3 separate regions of the Homo sapiens genome follow, and regions 1 and 2 are each linked to region 3. The links are contacts of gene promoters, found by promoter capture Hi-C in blood cells and fetal thymus (Javierre and others, 2016). All regions are on one chromosome and are shown on one strand. The core of a region is centred on a gene start or on the middle of the fragment in contact, and the rest is flanking DNA. Distances in the headings are between cores, read along the strand shown.

Region 1 (3,599 bases), core at 990-3,489, 400 kb before region 3:
AAGGCTATATATTAGGATCATTTTTGGAGTTAAAAAAAAAAACTAGCATCTCCCCACTCTTAGACTCAGTAGAACTAGAAATACGTATGTCTCAAGATCATTTCAGGTAAAGCTAATGTGTGCTGCTGTATAAAAGTCACTCTCTAAGGGTTTATCAGATATTATGAATGAAAAGCTAAATTACAAAAATATTTTAAATCATTGATACATAATTGTTTTATACAATTCATCTATTAGGTAAGCAGTTGTTTGTTATATTTTCTGCATTTGATATTTACATTCTATTGTTCTCATCTAACTACCATTAATATAAAGGAGTCATCATGTTACATTTAAAATGCCACCATTAAAAAGTGTTATAGCTGTTGTAGTATTAGTACAAGGAAATCTTAACTGTAATGCTCATTTCTTATAAGTTTTGTAACTCCGTAGTTTTTGATTATTAGTTACAAGTTTTTATGGGTTCTTTATTTGTTTTGCAGGTTCTTGAAGCACATCCAACTTATCCAAAAATCAGAAAGGATATACTTGATAAGGCCCGTGCGTCTTTAAGACCTTGAAAATAATTTTAACTTAGGTGTTGGTTTAACAGGAAATGAAAGAAATCTAACTTTCAGTTCTTCCTGTTCAAAACAGGTTTGAGCTCAGTGCTTTGTTATTAGAAGTATACCCTTTTTTCTCCAGCAGAGGTTGCTGCTGTACATCAAGAGAAGTACTATGTGAAATTGGTGTTTCCTAATGGAGTTGAATGAGAGCTGGTCTATTTGACTCTGTTTTGATTGGGTACAGATTTGGTGACTCTGTGGTAAAGACTATAATTATTTCTATAAAGAATATTTTGTTAAAATCTAGGTAATTAAATACCCTGTATCTTTTCTAAGGAATATTATTTCAGGAAATATATTTAAAATGCATTGTTCTCTTTTAAAGTGTTTTTGTTATATTCTTTTATTTATTTATTTATTTTTAAAGACAGAGCCTTGATCTGCCGCCCAGGCTGGAGTGCAGTGGCACGATCTTGGCTCACTGCAACCTCCGCCTCCTGGGTTTACGCGATTCTCCTGCTTCAGCCTCCCGAGTAGCTGGGACTAAAGGCATGTGCCATCACACCCGGCTAATTTTTTGTATTTTTAGTAGAGATGGGATTTCACCGTGTTAGCCAGGAGGGGCTTGATCTCTTGACCTTGTGATCCACCTGCCTCGGCCTCCCAAAGTGCTGGGATTACAGGCATGAGCCACCGCACCCAGCCTGTTTTTGTTGTATTCTGTGTTGTTTCAAAAATTGGAATAAATCTCCCTGTAAATAACTCATGAAAAAGACAATATATATATTTTAAATATATATTTTAATAAAGGTTTTATAAATAGATGATTTATATTCCTCTTGGAACTCAAAAGATGTGGTAAGTTTTGCAAATCAGGGTAAGCTCCCCCTGCATTCTGTAATGTTAATGGGTGGTGGTATAGTACAGAAAATGTAACTTTCATTGAAAAATCTTTTTTAGAAAAGGGTAGAGTGTGTGTTTCCCTTTCCTTTCTTGAGCTCATTCTTCCTGCTTTCAAGGCCATTGTGGTCTTAAGAAATAATCAGGTCCTGAAACCTCAATTTAAATAGGTCCCTTATTAGGGATATTTAACCTTAGCCTAGAAGACTTGGTCTGCAGGTATAATTTCAGACACTGTAACATTTGATGGTAAAGGGTGACCAAATACTTTTGGTCAGCAGGGAGTCACAAAGCACACCATGTGAAGGCAACGGTTTACCCAGCTCTGTTTAACAGCACCCTGGCATAGAAGCTTTCACTCTCTTACACTAAATTTAACCTAATCTAAACTTAATCCTTAGCATTATTTTTAATTTCTCATCTACATCTTTTTCAATTTTCCTTAAAATTGTAGTAAACACAGTCCTCAATTTTATTTGCATTTACAATAAACAGTATTTATAAGTCATTTGCTGCTTTTTATTAAATGTCCTGTGTTTGTTTTGAACTCCATTCTCTTGTTTCTGATCATTTCTCCCATTTTTCAAAATCCCTTTAATTTCAATTACGTTATAAAATTCCAATTATTCTTCTTTTCACTTAGCAAAACAGTTTTTTGTGGGGTTTTTTGTTGTTGTTGTTCTTTGAGACAGAGTCTTACTCTGTAGCCCAGGCTGGAGTGCAGTGGTGCGATCTTGGCCCACTGCAACCTCTACCTCCTGGGTTCAAGCAATTCTCCTGCGTCAGCTTCTTGAGTAGCTGGGACTAAAGGCACACGCCACCACGCCTGGCTAATTTTTGTATCTGCAGTAGAGATGGGGTTTCGCCATGTTGGCTAGGCTGGTCTCGAACTTCTGGCCTCAAGTAATCTGGCCGCCTTGTCACCTAGCTTTTATTTATGGCATTTCATAGAATGTTTAATAATAGAATTTATAAGTCACTTCATATATGTTAAAATACTTTCATATTCCTTACATTTGATCTTCACAAACCTAAAATGCCGGCATTATTATCCCTGTTTTACAAATCTGGAATCGTGAAACATTACCTCTTTTTCTTTAATTCAGGTGGAGAAATATCTTTCAGCCTGAGTGGACATTTTTAAGGACAATGCTATGGACTGAATGTTTGTGTACCCCAAACTTCGTATGTTGACATCCTAGTCTTTAATGTGATAGTATTGGGAAGTGAAGCTTTAGGAAATAATTAGGTCATAAGGCTGAAGCCCTTGCGAGTGCGATTAGTGCCCTTAAAAAGAGGATCCCAGAGAGTTCTCTAGCTATCTTTCTACCATGTGAGGACAAAATAAGAAGTCAACTATTTGCAACCCAAAAGAGGGTCCTCACCAGAACCTGGTGGTGCTGGAACCGTGATCTCAGACTTCCAGCCTCCAGAACTGTGAGAAACAGATTTCTTTTGTTGATAAGCCCACCAGTTTATGATATTTTATTATTGCAGCCGGAGCTGACTCAGGCAGAAATCACATTAACAGAATGCCTTTAGTAGTTCCAGTGAACTTGTGTCATGGGATGCTGGAATCATGGAAATTGGATAGAGAAATAGAGCATCTGTTCTCTCAGCAAGACATTTCCAAATCAGTTTTCCTATCTGTAAGAGGAGAGGAAGGTTTTGTTTTTGTTTCTTAAGCAGCCATTTATTTTGCACCTGCCATTTGTTAGATGCTATTTTAGGGACTTTCCTTACTTTATGTCTTTTAATTTTCAGTCAGCTATTAAGAGAAATAATATTCCCACTTTTCAGATAAGAAAGGTGAGACCTGGACTAAATGATTTGCCCAGGGTCACAGAGAAAAGTGTCAGAACCTGAATTCCATACTGGCCCAGTCAACTTCAAAGCCTCTGCCTTATTTATTATATTAAGATGCCTTCTATAACTAAGAGATAATGTTTCTGTAAGAAGAAGTGATCTTTTCTACATCTGGCTAGCAGAAGAAACTGGTGTATCACAGAGATAGCTAAATAATGAAGAACAAGATGGACTGAGTGGAATGAACAGCTGTTACAAATGTAGAAACTATTAAAGAGCAGTCTAATTGAGGAGCACTATAGTGTAGCAGTCAAGAGCATGGATCTGAAATCAGACCAGCCTGGATTT
Region 2 (3,568 bases), core at 17-2,516, 430 kb before region 3:
GTTCTTCTAAACCCCACCACCTTCATCTCAGGCTGATGCCCTAGGCATCTGTGCTCAGAGCCTCAGAGACACAGAGGTGGCAATCCTTCAAGCAGGGCAACTCAAAGAACTAGATATGCTCTGCAGGCTACCTCTAGTAACGCTTTTAATAAAAAGATGTTTGAATTTAGAGAACATCAGTTTGTATTTAAAAATAAAATATCCCCAGCGAGCACAAAAATTGAAAGGAGAAAATATGGTCTGTTTTTTACAGTAATATCAACACTTTCTCTTTATTATTTTTACTCTTTGAGTTTTTTAATTAAATAAATTAAATTTATTTAATATGGGGACTACCACAGGCAATTTCATTTGTTTTTTGCCCTGTCTATTCCAGAGTATACTCAGATGTTATTTAAAAGAATGCTGTGAACTACTTGACCATCTCACCTCTTCCACTCACTCTGGGTCCAAAATATGGGCTCATCTTGCCACCCACATTGCCCAAACCTACTTTTATTTTCTTCAGGCCTGTATCGTTTTTTTCCCTGCCATTTCTACCTTGTGTTCCACACTGTTTTCTCTTATTCCTCTTCTCTAAACTACCATTTAAAAGTAATATACATAATATATTCATTCTATCTCAAGCTGTTCCCATTTCACAGTCTTTCCCTTTGAGACAATGATCTAACTTTATTTCTTTAAAAAACAGACTTCTTCCACTGTGAATATTTTAAGTCATTAAAAGTATTATAGTTTTCTAAGATTTGAAGAATCTCACACATTATAGTTTTCTAAGATTTGAAGAAGTCTTCATGTGTCTTGTGGGTTTTGTTTCACGTAAGTTTCTGTTGCTTGGCAGCAGCCTTTTTCCCAAAAAAATTGGCTTAGTAGACTGGCTGCTTTGGACTGTTTGTAAACAAATATAAAAGCAATTTTTTATAAATGCAATATAAGGATCTTGTACTCCAGCAACACCAAATGACATACAACCATGCTTCCAAGTCTTTGCTTGGGTTTTTTCCTTTTGCCTAAAATGAACTTTAGCTTCCTTATCCCTTTTCTCTTTCCAAACACATAATCTAAAATATATCCCTCTTGGGGGAAAATAAAAAAGTAAATCTGCATCCCACTACCACCACCTACATTAAAAAATGTCTTATGTGGTGCTGGGTAGCATGACCAACCATCCTAGATTTGCCTCGGAGCAAAGGGTTTTCCTGGATGCAGGACTTCCCATGCTAACAGAAAGTCACAGGCAAACTGGGATGAGTTGGTAACCCTAATCCTCGGTTACTTTGTCCATACGTCTTTATTACTTATAGTATTTTACTAAAAATATTTATGTGCATATTTGTGTTCTTTATTACACTGTAGACTCCTCGAGTTCAGGGATCACACCATATTCCCAATATCAGACAAAATGCCACACACATGGATGTGGCAACATAGATGTTTATTGGTTGAATGGATCAGTGAATGACTGTAAAACACCAAGTCAATTAAAAACACAGCAGGAGAATCGCTTGAACCTGGGAGGTGGAGGTTGCCGTGAGCCAAGATCACACCACTGCACTCCAGCCTCGGTGACAGAGTGAGACTTGGTCTCAAAAACAACCACAAAATTTTAAGTAAATTTTTATTGTCTATGTGATATTTTTAATCTTAAGAGTTTTTAATCTTGTGTTGTATGCTTTATTCTTACTAGTACCTTACATACTTATCCACAGATCTATTTTGTTGGAATTACTCTAAAACATGCATCTCCGTTCATTTTATGTGTACATTATTGGTTATCCTCAGTAACTCATCTTGTACTTTAGATTAAGGCTCTATTTTAGCTTATTTCAGAAATGTACCATACAAATTTGACCTAATTTAAGTAGTTGAAAAATTCCTCTTCTAGATCTAATTACTGCTCTCACGACAGATTGCCCCTTTTCTCTCTCAGAATCTCCAGATCGCCTTGAGCTTTCCCCTTCCTTCATACTAATTGGTTAACATGTCTCCTCAGCTCTGTTTGCTTGATAGCTAGCTAACACATCCAGTCTGTCGTATCCTAACCCACTGCTCTAATGAAGACCCTTATCACCTCTCATCTGAACTAGTGCAGATTCCCAACTCATCTTCCAGCTTCTAGGTTCTGGCTGCTCCAGGTCATCATAGGACTAGCATATCAGTTCTAAAAATCAAAACCTACCCTTTGCTTAAAATTTAAGTTAGTGCTTCAGGATAAAGTCTAAAATCATAGCATTATTTTAATAATAATATGGCCGCAAATTATTTGGCCATTTATATTTCTTATCCTTCTTCCTCCGCTTTAATAATATCAAAGTTACCAACACTCCCCACACTGTTCTCTGCTTCCCTCTTGGCGCATGCCTTCTGCTACTTGGAATGCCTTTGTCCGTCTAGTAAGATCTTCCTCCTATCCTTGAGGCTGCTCAAAGGTCAACTCCTATGTGAAATTTCCCAACTCCTCCAGGCAAAGTTAAGAATCCTGTGCTTTGTAATACCATACCATAGCACTGCATGCTTGCCACATCTCATCACCCTATAACTATTTTGATATCTTCCTACTATTCATCAATAAAGATGGACCAGCTAAGTTTTTTAGAAGGTAATATACATTTTAGTTTTTAATACATTTCTTAAGTGCAGAAATTTGCCTTCTGTCAAATGTCATGGTTAACCAAAGACAAGTGAATGTAATTTAATCTGTCACTGGTAATTATAACTTGAACTAATAATGAATACATTTCAATAGTATATAAGAAATATTCAAGAAATTGCCTTCCCAATGTTGATAATACTAGCAGTATCATGCAAAAAAAATTTAATCCGAAATTTTAACCTTTAGTTCTTGCTTAATCCAATATAGCTTCCAGATGCTGTGGCTTTATTATGGGGTAGTTACTCTATTTCTTGTCAACATTTTTGGAAGTATAAATATTATTAATAACATTTGTAATTTATAAATATTTTTCATGCCTTTATTTCTGTAGCACTCCTACAGTCAATATTATAATCCTATTTTAAGAAAATAAGTATATTGGACTCAAAGAATTTGAGTAATTTGATTGAATTCACATAGCTAAAGGACAAGACCAATATTTGAATTGTCTTTTTCTGAAACCATATTCTTATTGTGCCCTTTTTAGTGATGCTAAAAGGTGTGGTGAACAAAATCTCTGGACCCAAGATTGTGTGTCAAGGGGACAAATGATACTATCAGCCTGTATTAGTTTGACATCCTGTAATTAAGTAGATACAGTATTTCCAAAAGTCTTTTTTAAAGAATATTTTGTATTGTGGTGAAACATATATAACACAAAATTCATCATCTTAACCATTTTTAAGTGTACTGTTCAGTGGCATTAAATGCATTCGCATTGTTGTGTAAGTCATCACCGTTATCCATCAACGTTTTGCGTTTTTGCCATTCCAAACTGAAGTCTGTACACCAGTTCCTCGTTCCTCATTCCTCTTCCCGGAGCCCCTGGCAACCATCATTCTACTTTCTATGTTGATGAATTTATTCTAGGCACCTCTGTAAGCTGTATCACACAGCATTTTTCCTTTTGTGTCT
Region 3 (3,385 bases), core at 168-2,667:
CCATACTAATATTCAGCAATTTTCTCACTCATTTTAATTTTCCAAGAACTATTATATTTGTGTCTGTTTATTCAAAGACAAAATCTCTCAAACAAAAAAAGTACAATAAATAAAAAAATTTGAAAAACAATAAACAAAAAGAAAAACAATAGCAAAAAATATTTAGAAATTATATAGTCATTCCTATTAGTTTTGATTCATTCAAAAAGGTATTAAAATATGTAGGAACAAATTATTTACCTCATTGAAAGACTTTTATTTTATTATTATAATCAACAGGTATTAATCGATGGCCAGTGTACTGAAGTCAGTCATAATTCTTGAAAGTTCAATTTTAATGAGGTTCTACCACCGTTAAATGACCTGTATTTATGAATTAAAGTAAAGAATTAAGTGACTGGGAGTTCAGTTTTTTTGTATGTTTTTACTGCAAGTGTGTTATTTATTCTACATACTTAGAACTTGTCCCTTTTTTCCCTAAGGCAATATAAAGGACCATATTAGGAGATACAAGCACCTAGTAAAGTTGCTAAAAAAAAATTGCCTAGAGATATTATCAACAATATAAATGCTCTGATGGAATTCTTATCTAGATGTGTTTGACTGATAAATTAAACTACCCATGAAACATGACTGTTAAGATGCTATTTTTTACAGCAATGTTTAATCTTTCAAAATTAGGTTTCTGTGCTTTAAAATAAAAATGGCTCCATGTAAGTTAACAAGTAGAGACAAACCATTGTTTAATTATCACATAAGCTTAAAGTTTGCTGAATAAAATAATGCAAATATTGAACAACATGAGATTTATCAAGAGGAGTAAGTTAAATAACAGGGCTTAAATGCACACAAATCATTCATTCTAAATTAATGCTAAAAGAGTCTACAACCTGCAAAAATAGTTTTCCTAAGCCTTTTACTGTATTGTCAATATTAAAAGCCATCACATGAAATTTTATATTGTATATTCACAGAAGGCTCCATTTTCTCAGGACCTGTGGAATTTACCGAGGTTTTCTCATCCTTCCTGCGATTCCTAGTAACAAGCTTGAATTAAACATTTTTGAAGAGACACATGATGATTCATTTTATCTATTAATTTTGCTTCAGTGACACTTGCATAGAAAGTTATTTAGGATAAGACATGCCTCTGGTGATTGTTTTGTTTTGTTTTTAATCAGCTAAGGATTTTGCAGAGAGAAAGAACAGCAAGCTCATTGCAAAGCTTCCTCAAGTAATAAAAGGGACACACTTTCAGAAAATGTCCTCAGAATAATTTTCCTACTATAAAATTGTTTCCGTAAAAATTAAGAAGCATTCTCTTTTAAAGAAAAAAAGAATTCTCTTTTCTTTTTTTTTATTTTTCGCTCTTACCTGTAAATATGGTTTCTGTACTTCGGCTCCGTCAGAACACACTGAAGAGAGTACACTCCTCCCTCGTCTATCCATCAGGCGGCAGCCAACCAATAACAAAAGCCAGATCCTGGCATTCTCTAGCTCATGCTCCCTGCTTTGCTTCCATTTCTTGTTCCCTCCCACCTCCACTCTTTTAGAGGACGAATCCCTGCAGCTGGGAGAGAGGAAGCGAGTGGAGAAAAGAAATATGGAGAGAAAAGCAGAGATGCAAGATATTTCAAAAAATAGCTCCCAACTATGGAAAATGTCTGCAGATGACCTCAGCTGAAGTAAAAAGTCTTGCTTTGGATTTAGAAAAATAAAGTTAATCAATGCCTCACCTACCTGAAATCAAAGCAAAATGCTCATAGTAAAACCTAGGTAAATTGCCTGTTTTTTAGTTCCCACTGATTTTTCTCAGTGAAAAAAGTGTACCTCCTCATTATACATTTTGATATGCAGACAGAGGAGGGAGACTGAACATCAAGATGACATTTTGCATATTCAGTTTGCAAAGAGATAGAATTAAAATGAATCAACACCCTTTATACTTATGTTTTATATTATTTGCACTACAACCTCTGTTTGACAATGTTTTCATTCAAACGCAGTTTCGAGGCCTAATCAGTATGAAAAATATTTCATTCTGAGCATTAGAATATTCAAATATTTCACAGTTATGTGGTTTGCATTACTTCAGATTCCTTAAATGCCATCAATTTGTGAATAATGGAACTTATTAAAGATTAAAAAGAGATCAGTCACTTGGTTGCCATGCCTCAAAGTGACCAGCTGAACTCCAATTTTATTCTAATAAACTTAAACAAAAATCATTTCACTTCTGAACCTAGAGGCATAACATGCATTAAAGGACAGTTAAAGAAAACACCAAATTAGGATTTTTTAAGGCAATAAAGCAAATTCATCCAGTTTCAAACAGTTTAATTTTTAAAATACTGTAATACAAACCAGGGATCTTTATGATAAAAATTCTCTCAATTGAGCTTCCTCTAGTGGAGGTGGTCTGAAAAATTTCCTTAGAAAGACATATACAGTAGATATCACCACTATAGAGGTATGTACTGGCTACTTGAGGTATTTATAAGCCTTGCTCTTCAATTTCTTAAATCAGTAATGTGTCCTCATGGGAATAAGGCCAAAGGGAGTAAAATTAGAGGGAAGGGCAAGCAAGCATTCTTTAAGAGTTACTGGCATGGTGGCAAATCATTAGTCCAGGAATATCTGTACAGGAAGGGCTTGGGGTGTCAATATTGTTAGGAAAGGAATGGCTGGTGACTTAAACTGATACTAACTTTAGATAGGAGTGCACTGATTTTGCTTAGTTTGCACTGTTATTTAGAGTAGCTTTGGGAGGCTCTGCTAAAGATTATGGGGAAGACTAAACTATCGCTTATTCCCACCGCCAAGTCCTCTGTTGTGAAAAATGCTTTCAAAGCCTTTGTGGTCCTATTGCTAGGAATAACTGGAGGAATCCCTAGGACAGACAGCATTTTTAGAAATAGTTGTTCGGGGCCATCTTCATCAGAACCACTAGGGGAAGATTCATTAAAAATGCAGGTTCATGGGCCTCCTCCAGATTTAATGAATAAGCATTTGAGGAGTTTCTGACTCAGCATTTTTAGCAAGCTCTCCCAGGTGATTTATATGTCAAGTGTGATTGTAGACAGAGACTTGTAGGCAAGTATTTGCAGGGCACAAATTCTAACCAGATTTCTTCTGTTTAGATGATGATGCCATTGTCTCAGAAAAAAAAAAAAAAGAGAGATTTAGAGATTTGGGAACAAAATAACAAAATTAATTTGAACGTTTTGAACTTTTTGGATATCCAGATTAAAATATTAAATAGTCAGTTAAACTCATAAATAAGGCTGGGATGTAGGTTCAATTTGGAACCCCCAGCATCTAGGGTTCGGTTAAAGTAATGAAAATAAATGAGCACCCTAAGGGTTTAATATAAAAATTTTATAAA

The links. Contacts are between HindIII fragments. The CHiCAGO score rates a contact against its expected background, and 5 or more counts as called.
Region 1: a fragment that was not itself captured here is called in contact with the fragment with the promoter of CSRNP3 in region 3 in 2 of 17 cell types (naive B cells and M0 macrophages); the score reaches 9.5 in naive B cells.
Region 2: a contact is called between a fragment that was not itself captured here and the fragment with the promoter of CSRNP3 in region 3, in 1 of 17 cell types (total B cells). The highest score is 5.9, in total B cells.

Annotation. Positions count from the first base shown.
Region 1 is chr2:165,871,716-165,875,314 of GRCh38, reverse strand. TTC21B (tetratricopeptide repeat domain 21B) reads left to right here. Exons shown (of 29, transcript NM_024753.5): 29 at 483-1,953. The coding sequence ends at 560. It overlaps LOC100506124 (a long non-coding RNA gene), which reads left to right and starts at 3,374. Exons shown (of 4, transcript NR_045375.2): 1 at 3,374-3,599. RefSeq lists an enhancer at 562-761. The HindIII fragment of the contact is 880 bases long and covers 1,800-2,679 here.
Region 2 is chr2:165,892,613-165,896,180 of GRCh38, reverse strand. All of the region lies in intron 22 of TTC21B (tetratricopeptide repeat domain 21B), which reads left to right. Among named protein-coding and RNA genes, the nearest start is that of TTC21B-AS1, 39 kb to the left of the region's middle. The HindIII fragment of the contact is 5,279 bases long and covers 1-3,568 here.
Region 3 is chr2:165,467,730-165,471,114 of GRCh38, reverse strand. CSRNP3 (cysteine and serine rich nuclear protein 3) reads right to left here and starts at 1,417. Exons shown (of 7, transcript NM_001172173.2): 1 at 1,375-1,417. The HindIII fragment of the contact is 3,341 bases long and covers 1,228-3,385 here.